Regions from separate parts of the Homo sapiens genome. Here region 2 is linked to region 1. Evidence: promoter capture Hi-C in human tissues and cell types (Jung and others, 2019). All regions are on one chromosome and are shown on one strand. The core of a region is centred on a gene start or on the middle of the fragment in contact, and the rest is flanking DNA. Distances in the headings are between cores, read along the strand shown. Region 1 holds the start of STK39 (serine/threonine kinase 39). Region 2 overlaps B3GALT1 (beta-1,3-galactosyltransferase 1).

Region 1 (7,350 bases), core at 2,296-4,795:
ATTTAATAATTTCCAACATTTTTAACCCCTCTGTAAATATAAAGCTCCCTCCCATCGATTTTACATCATTTCCAGGTCATGAATAAACTTATGAACCAGAATACTCCTAAGAGCATTACAATTTCTCCACTGACGTTTTAAAACACAAGAACAACAATACAATAAAGAGAAAACTTTATTTTTAGGTTTGCAAAATCCTGTGTTTATTTTTCTAAAACTGAAGTCAAACAACTGAACCTGCTTTGTTTGGATTTTAGTAAACTTATTCTCTCTTAATCCTGGGGGACCAAACTCTGCCCAGAAGGAAATGAAGAAAAAGTCCTCCGTGCCCGTGCCATGCTGGAAAGTTAAAACACGGTGCCTCCTTTGGTTTTCTGTTCAGGCACATCTGAGCCTCCTGCTGCTGGTCACGGTTCACACTGCTGGAGTCATATCATATGACACCTGCCGTATGGCGGGTAGAAGCAAAGGCTGTCAACTGGCATTCATGTTGAAACTGGTTCAGTGTTTGAACTGCTAACTTCTGCGTGTAATGTTTAAGCAAAAGTGCTTAACCACAAGTTCAGTCTTAATCTCTCAACTAGCATTAAACCCTAAATGGAAACAGGTTTGTAATTCCTTATAAACATTAAGCCCTTGCGAAAAACCTATTCCAGCAATTTGATTTTTCAATAACAGGGCCTCCACACAGGCCAACTCTTTCTCTTTTAGTTGGGAAAATATGAGATAAACTTTAAATGTAGAAAAGCCCTTCCCACAATGCAAATGCGCAAAAGTCAGGGTAGAATAAGCAGGTGTTTTTGTTCTCAAATTCCTCAGGTAAATTTCTTTTTTTCCACTAAACTGACCAACCATAATTAACACTGCTGGGACTGCAAACAGAAAGAAGTCCTGCCATTAATCCCACTCAACTTAAACTAAGATTTTATTAGTTCACAAAAAAATACTGTTTTCAAAAGGCAACGTTTGTATTTTAACCCTAATAATTGACCAAGTAGGTATATAAATTGATTATAACTTCTCCCAATCCTATGGACTCTATGGAGAATTATGTGGCAGATACCATTATTCAACTTTTATGGCCCACCTCTTCCTGTCAGAGTTCACAGCTGGTTAGTGAAGGCAACAGTGGAAATAATTAAGCACCTTACAAACTCAGACTTAAAACCCAGCTCAACTACGACCTCTACTAAGAAATACTCTGCTTCCTTCTCTTTCCTGGCAGTCACTCCCTCCTTCGGGCTCTCCCAGTACTTACTCATCACATCCTATAGGATCCTTTCCCTATGTCTCCTAACAACTTAGGGCAGGGATCACTTTTGTTAATTTCTATATTGCTAGCAAGTGGGGCAATGCTTGGGACACAGCAGGCCTTCAGATCTTGTTGCGCAAATAACAACTATGAGGTTACATGCTATGAGGTCTGTAAAAAGAGGGGCAGAAGAAACCACGGCATTTTGCCTTGAAAGAAGCAGAAGGCTTTTCAAGGAATATTCACACTCACCTTGGAAGCGGAGTGAGATTTAGTACACAAAGATGGGCACTCACAGGAGGGAAGAGCCTCTGCAAGGCAGCAAAGAATGGAAGACCAGATGTGCGGAAGACAGCGGTGTATTCAGGAAGCAATCACTGAAGAGTAGACAATGGGAGGAGGCAGGCAGGTTGAGGGTACAGGGCCTATATGCCAGGTTAAAGAGGTTTCCATGGAATATTCCAGGCTTTGAGAAGCCCCTGAAGCTATTTCAGGCAGTGACATGAAGACTCATCCCTTTAGAGTCTTTGGTCAAAAATTATGAAAGATCTGGGTTTTCAAAGAATTTTGTCTACAGATGCCTATTATAGGTTATCTGAAGCTTGTATATATCCTAGGTTACGGACCTGCCCAACATTTTCTCACATATTTTTATGTATATATTTATATATATATTTCCGTCTATGCTGTTTTATTCCCCAATAGCAGGTGATAAAGGCTCATTTAAACACCTAGTGAAATTTTTATATCTGTTTTAATTTTTTTAAAAGGAGGTGAAGAATTTTTTGAAGTGAAAGTTAGAAAAAATACTTAAGATAAATATTCTGAACTCCTTTTTCATCGCTGTACTTATATACCAAGATTCTGGAAAGGCAACATCCCATCCCTGCGTCAGTAAGGTTAGACGCTGAGGGCCCACTTAACCTGGAGGCTTCCCTAAGTGACAAGACTCTCAAACTGGATGATCCAATAGGGAAGGTTCTAAGTCAAGGGACAAAACAAATCTCCTGGCCCTTCAAGTGCTTGGCCCAAGGAAAAGTAACGCCGAGCCCTGCGACTCTGCCAGGTATTTAAAAATGTAAGATAAGGTGATATTTGTGAGCCGGCCAGAAGGCAACGAAAGGCAGAGAGCAGATCACCGGCAGCCTCGGATTTCACTCTTGCAGCTCGGCCTGAAACAGAGGGAAGCATCGGCCCGGTGCAGGGCAGGAGGCCAGGGCACCCGCTTTCCCCGGGGAGCCGGACTGGGCGGCAGGCGGCGCACCCTGGCACGGAGGGAGGCGGGTACCCGGGCGCGCCGAGTGGCGCGGAGAGCCGGGCTGCAAGGCGGGCGTGGAGTGGCGGCTGTCAGGAAGAGAGGCCAGCATCCTCCCCGGCCTCAGAAAAGCACTGGGGCCTCCGCGGCTTCTACGTGGCCCCGTTACCCACGACGAGAGGGTCACGACGGGAGGCAGAGGAGCGGCTGCGCCCGCAGAGTCCCCCAGGACGCGGCCCCCGGGGCCCTGGAAACCCAGGGCGGGGCCCCCGCAACCACACCCCACCCGCGGCTGCCTGTCCGCGTGGCCACCGGCCACGGGCTGCGGTCCCGGCACGCGGGGGGAGGAAGATGCGGCGGCGCCGCCTGGTCCTCCGCTCCACCGCCCCGGCGATCCCTGAGATAAAAGTTTGCAGCATGCGGCTCGTCTGCAGTGCGAGTCACATCCGCCGCGCCGCCTCCTGCAGCACCAACGCTCATAGAACGAACAAATACATTAAAAATTAAAAAAAAAAAAAAAAAAAAAAAAAAAACTGTTGAAGCCAGTAGGCCCCGAAGCCGGCCTCTCTGCCTCCAGGGCGTGCATGCAGGCTAGCCCAGCATCCCGCGCCCCCTCCCGCCCGGCCTCGGCGCCCGGCCTGTGCCGGCCCCGCCGCGCCCGCCGCACTGACCGATAACCTCCTGCAGCTCGTACGCGTCCCTGCAGATGGGCCAGCCGACAGCCTGTGCCGCCGGGGCCGGGGCCGGGGCCGGGGCCGCGGGAGCTGCCGGGGCCGGCGCTGCTGTCGCGGCCGCCGGGGCCGCCGCCGCCGCCGCTGTCACCGGGGCCGCCTGCTGGGGAAGCTGGACGTGCACGGGCGAGCCGCTCGGCTCCGCCATGATGCTGCGGAGGAGAGCAGGAGGACGCGCCGGCCGACGGACGACCTTCCACTTGAAACTTCCTTTGCCTCGCCGCCGACACCTCTCGGCCGGCGCACGCCCTCCCCGCCCGCCGCCGCCGCCGCCGTCCCCGCCGAAGCCAGCTAGGAGGGGAGGGAGCAAGGGAGGCCGAGCTGGGCGGAGGGAGGAGGCAGCGCCGGCGGAGGCGGGGAAGGGAGGAGGCGGCGGCCGCTGCGCTCGCCGCGCGCCCAGAGCCTAGCGCGCGCTGTTCTCCGCCTCGGCGAGGGGAACCGCCGCCCCCCCTCTCCGCCGCCCCCTCCCGCTCCCGCTCCGCTGGCGGCCGGGGAAGTTCCCACCAAAGGAGTCAGGCCGCTTTGTGTGTGCTTTCGGGGCCACCGGCCCTGGTTCTCCTCCTCCCTCCCTGCTCGCCCTGCGCCTTGGCCCCAGACGATCAGGCTTGCCGGAGGACGCCCCCTGGGGACCCCGAGGGCGGGGTCGTTGAACGGCCGCCAGGTTCTCACATTCAGAATTCTCCTGCCACCAAAGAGAACCTGAAGTTCATTTACAAGTTGACGAGCGGGATACCTACATGGTGTCCCTTTGCAAGACGCCAGTTAGAAAATAACCCAAGTTGTAAGTTTCCGGCGCTTTACTTGCCGGTATCCCTTTCCCACCTTGCCTAATCTAATCGCAGTCCTTCTAGTTTTTCTTAGTAAATGAAACTTGATTCCTTAGGTCTCTGGCTGTTCAGACTTCATTTTTTCCAAGCCGCCTGGATCCCAGGGAGGCGATTTAAGGGGCTGTGGAATTAGAATAAGACATGCAGGAGAGGTTTAGAAAGTTTGCTCAAATTCTACACCCTTAATAATTGCCACGTTAGCCCGTGAGGACACTGAGGCCAGACATCAGGCGTTTCTTTAAGAGCGTATACTTGGTGGGGAAATAATTTATTGGGGCATGAATAAACTGTGTTGGAAGCTTTTAATTGCTGTTTTTTCAACACCCCAAAAATAACCTCGTCTGTAAAACTGCTATGGTAAAACCATAGGTTTTCCTAATTATAGGTGTCATATTTAACAGTGAATGTTCTCTGTGTTCCCTCCGTGGAGGTGACCAGGATCCACCGTTCTTGTCTCCAACTGAAACGGGGCAGTAAACCAATAGTATTGGTCGTTTGGCCAAGATGATCTTGTCTGGTTCTCATTGCTAGGACTGCTGAAGAAATAGGTAAGAATAATGAGGATGTAATAAAAACTCTAGGGATATCATGATTTTGTCTCCCGAGTGTATGTACAGAAATCTCACTAAAATTTTTGAAAGATTATTCAGAAGAAGCCCAGAAATTTATTAGGAAAGTTAGTTGTCTAATCAAAACATTGATGTCCACTGAAGATGAGGGCACTTAATCTCTTGGAGCATTACAAAAGTTGGAGTAAAGCAGCTACCTCGCTCTGGTCTTGAAGCAGAAGTTCATGCTGAACTAAGTGTACATTCTTTGATGCGGAGGACTTCAAAAACTGTGTCTTGTCATGTCTGTCAAGAAACAGAGCCCTTCATAAACAAATTCTAGGCCTCTGAGGAACAGGGGAGCTCTTTATACCAAGCCATGGCTGCTGACCTCTTCAAGTGCTGCCTCCACCCTACCCCAAAGAACTTTTAAGGACTGTTTTTAAAGGAAAAGAAAAATGATCAAATGAATATGACTTCCATTTTGTCATATGAATTTCTATTTTTGACTTTCAAACCATGAAGTGGGATTATGAAGACCAGGAATGTTCTTGGGACTTAGTAGGAAAACATGATGCCGTCAAGATCAATATCACAGAATTGAATCAAACACAGATCAATTAGTCTCCCACAAAAAGCAACTGTTCCCCAGTCACAGACTACATGTCGGTCTCTAGTCAACCGCTTTCCAAATGGCTACCAGGATGAAGACTTGCTTGAGTGGATGACTCAGTGCACATCCATCATTTCTACAGTAAATCGGTTTAAAGAAGAATGTCCCCTGGCATTGCTCTTTGGCATCATTTTTATAAATGAAGAACAGAATATGAATAATATTTTAAAATTATACAAAAGCATTAGAGTTAATGTTTCTGTAAACAATTGGGTAAAATGGTACTTAAAACTTAGAAATATATGTTTTTTAGAAGTATTCAACTGATATGCACTTTTCCCGGAAAATCCATTACTAAATTTAAATTGAAAGATGGGGATGGAGGCGGGTGCCTTTAAAATATAAACAAGGTTTATTTCAATGCATAAAGAGTACATTCAGTGAGCGATGTTAAAAATAGAAAGGAAAAATAAGGGTCTAAATGTTTTTAAAGTGTATCCAACTGCCTCATGATGTGTCAGGGTTTCTCAATCTCAGCGCTGTTTTGTGTCAGATAGTTCTCTTCGTTGTAGAGGTCTGTTCTCCTGTGGTATGGTCTGAATGTTTCTGTCCCCCCAAAATTCATATGTTGACACTTAATCGGCAGTGGAATAGTATTAAGAGCCTTTAGCAGGAGATTGGGTCATGAGGACAGAGCCCTCCTGAGTTAGATTAGTGCCCTTATAAATGAGGCCGGAAGGAGCTTGATGAGGATGCAGCTAGAGGCATTAGCTATGAAGTAGAGGGCAAGCCCTCAGTAAATACCTAATTTGCTGGCACCTTGATCTTGGACTTTCAGCCTCCAGAACTGTAAAAATGAATTTCCGTTGTTTGTCAGCTACCCAGTCTAAGGTATTTTGTCATACCAGCCAGAGCAGACAAAGGCACCCTGGCCTCTATGCACTAGATGCCAGTGGCAACCCTGCTGCTGACATTGTGACTATCAACAATGCCTCCAGACATTGCCAAATGTCCCCTGGAGGGTAAATAATGCTTTAGATGAAGTAAGTATACATTTTCATTTTATAAACAGATTATTGCAGTGGTTATTTGTATTACAAAGAGGTTTCGTAGAGTTCCATTATTTATTCATAAACCCTTTGAACATCTAAGAGAGGATGTGTAGTGAAGTGGCCAACGCCTTGAAGAAAGAAAGTACTGGATTCAAATCTGGACTTCGATGTTTTGTTTTGTTTTTTGAGACAGAGTCTCGCTCTTGTTGCCCATGCTGGAGTGCAGTGGCACAATCTCAGCTCACTGCAACCTCCACCTCCCAGGTTCAAGCGATTCTCTTGCCTCAGCCTCCCAAGTAGCTGGTACTACAGGTGCCCACCACCACGCCCAGCTAATTTTTGTATTTTTATTTATTTTTTTGTTTTTGTTTTTGAGACAGAGTCTCGCTGTGTCACCCAGGCTGGAGTGCAGTGGCGTGATCTCAGCTCACTGCAAGCTCTGCCTTCTGGGTTCACGCCATTCTCCTGCCTCAGCCTCCTGAGTAGCTGGGACTACAGGCACCCGCCACCACGCCTGGCTAATTTTTTTGTGTTTTTAGGAGAGACGGGGGTTTCACCGTGTTAGCCAGGATGGTCTCGATCTCCTGACCTTGTGATCCACCCGCCTCGGCCTCCCAAAGTACTGGGATTACAGGCGTGAGCCATTGCGCCTGGCCTATTTTTGTATTTTTAGTAGAGACGGGGTTTCGTGTTGTATTTTTTTGAGACAGAGTCTTACTCTTGTCACCCAGGCTGGAGTGCAATGGCACGATCTCGGCTCACTGCAACCTCTGCCTCCAGGGTTCAAGGTATTCTCCTGCCTTAGCCTCCTGAATAGCTGAGATTACAGGTGTGTGCCACCACACCAGCTAATTTTGTGTTTTTAGTAAAGATAGGATTTCACCATGTTGGCCAGGTTGGTCTCACACTCCTGACCTCTCAGGTGATCCACCCACCTTGGCTTCCCAAAGTGCTTGGATTACAGGCGTGAGCCACTGTGCCCAGCTCAACAGTTTTTCTAGAGACAAGGTCTTGCTCTGTCACCCAAGCTGGAGTGCAGTGGCATGATCATGGCTCACCGCAGCCTCGAGCT
Region 2 (7,350 bases), core at 1,521-4,020, 950 kb before region 1:
CGGCGGGAGGTAGAACGCACGGAGCGCACGGGAAAGTCCACCGTGGCTCGTAAAGAGCCGAGCAAATTGAACTTTATTGCGGTGATTAAAAGGAGCTGTGGACCTGGCGCGCCAGGGGAGAGGCGCGTTCCACGAGGCTCCCCAAAGTCCCACTTTGCCCCGGGGACTTCGGAGGGGAAGGGAAGAGAGGGAAAAGTAACTGTTGGTCCACATTGCTGAAGAAAAGGAGGAAAGAGAAGTTGGGGGTGGGGGTGGGGGTGGAGGTTACTCTTGGGGGAGTGGCGACTTTTAGGTGTCTGAAGCCCCGCGTGGGAGGCTTGCTACACTTTTCTGGAGCGCAGACTTGAGGATGGAGAGTCCCACTCTGAGGTACTGGTAGCGGCTCCTCCTGCCTGGTGGCGGCGTAGGGCGCAGCGGGACAGCTTGGTGGAGGCAGAGCGGGGCTCCGACGCCCGACGGCCCGGCGTCCAGGTGGGGCCACTGCCTCCCCAGGCCGCTTTGGCCCGCTGACCTCCCAGGTTGAGACCCGGCCTGGTGCGCCTCTGGCAGCTGCCAAATGCCTGGCGGCTCCGCTTTCCGACAAAGTTCAGGCCCGCTGGGGTCTGGTCCATCAGACCTAGGACACGTTAACCACGCAGAGTAACCAGGTTAGGGTACCCAGCTGCCTCCAGAGCGTTTTTGTTTCATATTAGATTATCTTATTTGATAAAGCTGTTGAGAGTTCCACCCGTGCTGCAAAGCCTTCCGCAGAAGGCGAATTCTTTGCGCTGCTGCAAATGGATGGTGCTACTGGGCCAGATCCGAATCTCCGTAGTTCAGTGCAGTGGGTTCTCCATCCCTGCTCAGGACGCACAAACTTACTCTTGGCGATTGTTTTCTATGTGGCTCCTTGTCTCCGTGGGAGTATCTGCTTAGGAAAGTTCTTGAAATACCTCAATACTAAGGAGCTCTCCCCACTGTCTCAGATGGGGCGAGGCTCCGGTACTTGACTGGCGTTGGGGTTGCAGCAGGGAATGGAGGTGGAACATCAGCTCCCTGCCTGCCAGCTTTGGTAAAACAAAAATTGGCTCAATACAGGGAGGCGGATCTTGAACTGGGGACAGCATTTTTCTTGTTATGTAGCTCCGTAATCTCTTTCACTAGAGGGATCTTTTGTCCCAAAACAAAACAAATCACAACACAACAAAAATACCCAAAACCAAACCGCAGAAACCACTTTGATTGGGCTCATTTCTGATTTGGTAAACCAGAGAAAATGAAAGTAAGGCACGTAATAGAAATGCTATAGAAAATCAGGAGGGAGCTGTCCAAATATGTCAGGCATTTTTCGATAGTTATTTTTCATTGTAAAGATTCTATTTTCTCCCAATTTAACAACTAAGTTATTTTAAAGCAGATGAATAACTTACGATAAACTAGTAGTGATGTTAGTTTTGGGTCCAAGGATGGTCTCATGGTTTTCATCACTTAATTGTTGTGCTGTAAATGGATTTTTTTATTATGATTTTAGTCACACATACTGCATTTGGACTAGTAAAAAATTGGTGCTAAGTATTTTCTTCTTAGCATTCATCATGTCTGGCTTAAAAGTGTGGTTTTCTGATATGATTAAAGAAAGTATATAGTTTGTGGTGGTTGTTCTATACAAAATTTACCTGCTTCCAGGTGATTAATATTGCAATATTTTAGTTATTGAAACCTTCAGGACTTTGTTAAGGTTACTAAAACAGGCTAAGCAGTTTATGTTAGTTTTGTGTTTCTTTTATGCAATACTATGTGCTGGTAAAACTTTTTGTTTTCCTCATAGGTTAATATGGGGGAAATAGGATTAAAGTGTGTTATACTTATTAATTAACAATTTTAAAATAAACTTCAATTAAAACTAAGCTATCAGTAACAGCCAGTACTAAAAATGGAACTTCTAAGGAAAATTTTAACGACTTGGCTAAGAAAGTGCTTTTTCACCTTGACATCAAGTAACATTTTATATATCCACTGCATTATGTATTGGAGTAAGCCACAAGTCTTAAAATGGAATTAAGAGCCTTTGTGCTCATTTTAAGGTTGTGTGTGTACGTGTGTGTGTGTGTGTGTGTGTGTGTGTGTGTGTATGGAACTTTTACTTGGAGGAAATCTTTTTTTAGATAATTTTAAAACGAGTAGGACAAATATAATCAAGTACAGAGAATTGTGTCAATGGTCATAAATATTAGGATAAGGCCATAGGAAATATGTTTAAGCATAAACAAATGATGCAGAGTTGGGGTTGGGGGTGGGCACAGGCTTTAGGGAGCTAATGGGTAGTGCCAGCCACTTAATTTATACAAGCAGTTCAAATTGTACCATTTCTGCGAATGTACTTAAGCTTTAACTTGTTTTGCTTCAGGGCAGCCCATGAGCTTAGACTGCCATATATTCTAGATGAATTTTAGTAATACAAGTAATGTCAACTTGTGAAGACCCTAGGCCACTAAATTCACTTCTTGACTTGTACAAAATTTTAATTTTAATACTCATCGGATAACTTTTCTAAGAAGATCACATCAATATGAATAGCAATGCTAATAGATACAATTATTTTATGAAATAAAACTTATTTAATTTGTCAGATAGTCACGATTAGTGTTTGTACGTGAATAGGTAAGAAAGTGAGGTTTATAGCGATTTGTTTTAATTAATAGTGAAATCATTCTTTTTCTAAAACTAACAATGTTAGGGGAATTAAAAACTTCAACTGGTTAGTAAATCAGAAGTTCATTCTCATTTTTTCTTTGTCTCTTTCAGTCTGTCTCTTTCTTTCGCTCTCTCTCACCACACAAAAACACATGCATACTAGAAAGGTTCTCAGAAGGAATTTCGCCATGCTGCATTTGAAACAAATTGACTAATCTATTCTGAATGATGAATGTGCATCATAAAGGAATATTCTCGTTCTCTTTACTAATCTATTATTATGATACTGGTTTATTCAAATAACATTTAACAAATTGTACTGTGTTCCTACTATGTGCAAAATACTGTTCTGTTTGCTTTGACTGTGTGAATGAATACATACACTATTGTATGAATTCAATGAATACTTGTATGAGTAAATCACACAAAGATCCCCACCCTTTTGCAGTTTATATTCTATTGGGGTGCAATAGATCATAAAAATATAGTGATAACTTATATAGAATATTTATCTCCTACCAACCTGTTTATTCTAAGATCTAGATCTCATGGACCAATCTCTTTCCATCTCATTTTCTCTTGAACTTATATGTCCCCACTCATATATACCTACACAAATTAATGTAAGAATGGAAAACTAATACATATTGATCCTGAAGCTATGTATGAGAACAATAACACTGCGTAATATGTGAGGGTTAAAGGCAAAAAAGAGAGATCTAAAGATGATTATTCAGCAATAACATGATATGATATCTGTCCTTTAAAATATCTTTAAAATCAAATTATAATATTTTCAGAGGAACTAGAGGACAACATTATCTTTTAATGTAATGGTTCCAAATTAACAACATTTAAACAAAATAACAGTATTTATGACTGTGCAAAGTCAAATCTACAGAACTTCATTCAAAAGGGATGAGTGAATTTTAGTAGTTAGGAAAGATTCAAAAGCATGTTTGTAATGAGAATTCTTCTTTCTCTTCCACATTGAAGGTATCACATTTATGTACCTCTGTAAAAACTGATTAAAAAAAAAAAACTAGGTTTTGAGGTCAAAGTTTCCTTAAAGTTTATGCATCAAAAAAATAAAAAGACTCATGATCTGATCATCTAGTAAGAAATGCTGAAACAACAATTTTCAAGTAAGCTTGTCTTTAATTAAAAATAGATTTGCGTATGCAGTCAGTCCAATTACAGATCAAACTTTGCTAAATTTTACCTAGATCCCAGGTTCTATTCTTTTATGCAAAAAAAGCTGTACAATTATGATTCCAGTTTCACTTTCTGTGCTTCTGTTTCATTACTTTCTTTGGGGTCTTTAGCTTACATCTCAGAATTATTACTTATCCTCATATGAAGAATGGAACCTAGCTTGACTTTCAAAAACCAGTTTGCGAACAATATTTTCATATTAGACAGAAGCTGAAATTATACTCCGAAGAAGTTATAGCACATAATGAATTAGTGCCAACTTATTCACAGGTCGTATGATTACAGGACAATAGTGCAGGGTACATCATTCAAGAAAAGCCTTCAAGATTGCTGCTACCCACCCCAGTTTTAGGAGATGGAGAAAGACTTTCTGATATTGTCAACTCAGTATTTTATTTCTCCAGATTCAAGAATGCATTCAGCACTCATTTAAGCCTTTATCTTTTTTGCCCTAGTTTTTCTTCTTTCTGCCTAAATGCAAAACTTTAGGAAAACAATGTTTTTAAACCACAAGTAAACCAACAAATGGTTACCATATCTAGCACACTCCAGCTGATTATGAAACTGTTAATGAGAGCTAAGCAGAAATCAGGTATTTAGAGCTGGGAAGAACCCAGGTGATTCTGCAACTTCCTCTATGTGTAAGGAAGAACTTTACTCCAGGAAGTTGATATTTATTGCCAGTTCATTTGAGGTAGAAGATCTAGAAACACTATTTGTTAACGATGAAGTATATAAGTTAACACTTTGCCAGTTGCTCATTAAACAGTTCTACATTTTGTAAAATAAATAATAGAAATGACTGCATCTACTAGTTTGTGCATTTTATTATTTTAATATCTGACATACTATTACATTGTGTTAATATTATGTTGGGACCAAGAAAATGAGAAATTGGGATACATTTAGAGATGTCATCTAAGATTTATAAGGCTGGACGTAACTTTGCAAGTAAAATATTTGTATTTACTTCATTCTTTATGTCTATAGCATACAGATGTATATACTCTATATACATATATTTATAGACTCTATAGAATTTAGTTTATAGAATATAATGGATAGAATAGAATTGCTAAAATAGGATTTCTTATTTCCCTCTTCTTACAGGACCTTTTATTTCCCAAGGTCAATCACTTTGGATTTCAATGTGATTGACAGATGAACTTCAGGGACTCCAGAAAATACCAAAACTGTGTGCAGTTTTTTGTTACTGTTTTTCTTGAATGTTCTAGAATGAGAAAAAAATGCTTAAGAAAATTTAAAAGCTACTGCATTTTTTTTTTAAAAAGAGCAACAACAGAAAAACAAAAAAACTAGGTAGAGAGGGATAACTTGCATGGATAATGAGAGAATTTTAAACAATTAAAAACCTCTTTCTTGGTTCTCAAAGAAAAGAAAAAAACAAACCTATTGCTAGATTCTCTCAGAAAACACCTTCCACAGGGGTTTGAAGAGACATATCATTCTCCTAAAGTACTAATTTGAAACAGAAGAGATGGTTTATAACTGATATACTGCACTTAGTTTTAATTGTACTTAGTGTTTTGTTTAGTCTTTGGCTATGAGATGTTTCCTAGACACATATAGATGACATCAGGGCTGAATCAATTCCTCACTGAACAGTAAGTCATGTGGGTAACTTTTCTAGGACCCTAGCACCCAGGCAAAAACAACTGCCAGAGGTAGAGGTTGTTTGCAAACAATTAGTTGTAAATTTAGATACTACTAGACAAGAAGAATTATACTAAATGTTCACAAATGCACCATGGCTTTGTGAATAGGGCATATGAACTAATAGTTAGGCCTCCTCAATTCTGTATCTGTCTATGCCAGTCATAGGGCTTGTGAGTATGTGTCACAGTTCATCACTACTTTAGTTTTTATTTTTATAAAATAGTGATAGCATCACTGATTGCTTGAATTCCAATTTTTGAGGAATTAGATGAAAAATATGAGTAATGCATGTTGATTTCTCTTGAGTGAACACAGCTAATGATAAACAGGAAAGGTGCTGTATTTTAAAATAAGCAACAATTAACAAATAATAGATTGCATTGATAAAATTATTTTAGTTATTATTTTGGCCTAATTTCCTTTATGCAAAGAAATAAAAGATAATCTTTAGCTGACTAAAATACAAAATAGGCAGATCCTGAAATTATTGAAGGCAGCTAAAAATAGTCATTTTTTCCCCTCTGTTGGTTCCTTCTTTCTCTCTTGGTCTCTCTCTCTCTCCATATATATGTATTATTTATAAACATATATATATGTGGAATTTATATAACATATATTCTTTTTTTAACTTTATATATTTTATTTATTTCTTTATTTATTTTGAGATGGAGTTTCGCTCTTATTGCCCAGGCTGGAGTGCAGTGGTGCCATCTCGGCTCACTGCAACCTCTTCCTCCCGGGTTCAAGCAATTCTCCTGCCTCAGCCTCCCGAGTAGCTGGGATTACAGATTCCCGCCACCACGCCTGGCTATTTCTTTTGTATTTTTAGTAGATACGGGGTTTCACCATGTTGGCCAGGCTCATCTTGAATTCCTGACCTCAGGTGATTTGCCTGCCTTGGCCTCCCAAAGTGCTGGGATTACAGGCATGAGCCACTGTGCCCAGCTGAACTTTATATTTTAAATGTTATAAAGAGTTATTTCAATGCTGCCTGAAAATTTCTCCTGATTTTATGTCATTGTAAGCCAGGAATCAGAAGCTATTAAAATTCAAAAGCTTCCTAAGGGACATTTTTAATAAATGTAAATAAGTAGAGAAAAAGAGTAATACTAAATGTATATATATATTCACATATATACATACAGACAATCACAGTTAAATTCCAAAGAGATTGTTGTAAAATGTACAGATATTCTAAAGTTCATCTACAATAACAAGTAGGTTATAACAGCAAAGGATTTTAACATAAAGAACGCATTAAGGGAAGTTGCACTTTCAAGTATTTAAAGGTATTACGAGTGATGATTAACATGCAGACAAACATGCAGAAGAGAATAAATGACCTCAGATGCAAACTCTAAAATATGCAAAAATAAAGCACAGTATGAAATAATCACAAATATGTGGGGAAGTACAAAATGATTAATATATGGTTCTGGGAAAACTGAATAATTATTTGTGAAAAATGTAAACTCCCTACCTCACACTGCATTCTAAAATATCAGATGAAGGGAGGGTAAACATAAACTCTAAGACAAGCTAAGAGCAAATAAAGACTCTATAAACAGAAACATAATGGGGAAAAGATTTTACCTTATAAAAGTTAACAACTTTAAGTTAAAAATACCACAATTACAAGTAAATGGAAAATAGAGGAAGTACATTCAACATCAGTGTCTTCTTCTATTAGAAGACTTCTCTCAATATAGAAATTCCTAGTTTATGTTCATCTCCTTTAGTGGACTGAAAGCTTCTTGAAGAAAGAGGCTCATATTCATCATTTTA

Evidence for each region. Contacts are between HindIII fragments. The study calls those that stand out against the background at their distance.
Region 2: a fragment that was not itself captured here is called in contact with the fragment with the promoter of STK39 in region 1 in 2 of the 25 tissues and cell types used here (H1 embryonic stem cells and hippocampus).

The regions. Positions count from the first base shown.
Region 1 is chr2:168,244,050-168,251,399 of GRCh38, forward strand. It overlaps STK39 (serine/threonine kinase 39), which reads right to left and starts at 3,546. Exons shown (of 18, transcript NM_013233.3): 1 at 3,179-3,546. The coding sequence starts at 3,386. LOC107985959 (a long non-coding RNA gene) reads left to right here and starts at 3,912. Exons shown (of 5, transcript XR_007087282.1): 1 at 3,912-4,019. RefSeq lists silencers at 2,432-2,631, 2,652-2,741, 2,832-2,881, 3,242-3,291, 3,502-3,751. The HindIII fragment of the contact is 8,154 bases long and covers 3,109-7,350 here.
Region 2 is chr2:167,293,693-167,301,042 of GRCh38, forward strand. All of the region lies in intron 1 of B3GALT1 (beta-1,3-galactosyltransferase 1), which reads left to right. Among named protein-coding and RNA genes, the nearest start is that of B3GALT1, 4.4 kb to the left of the region's middle. RefSeq lists an enhancer at 417-1,029. The HindIII fragment of the contact is 4,904 bases long and covers 319-5,222 here.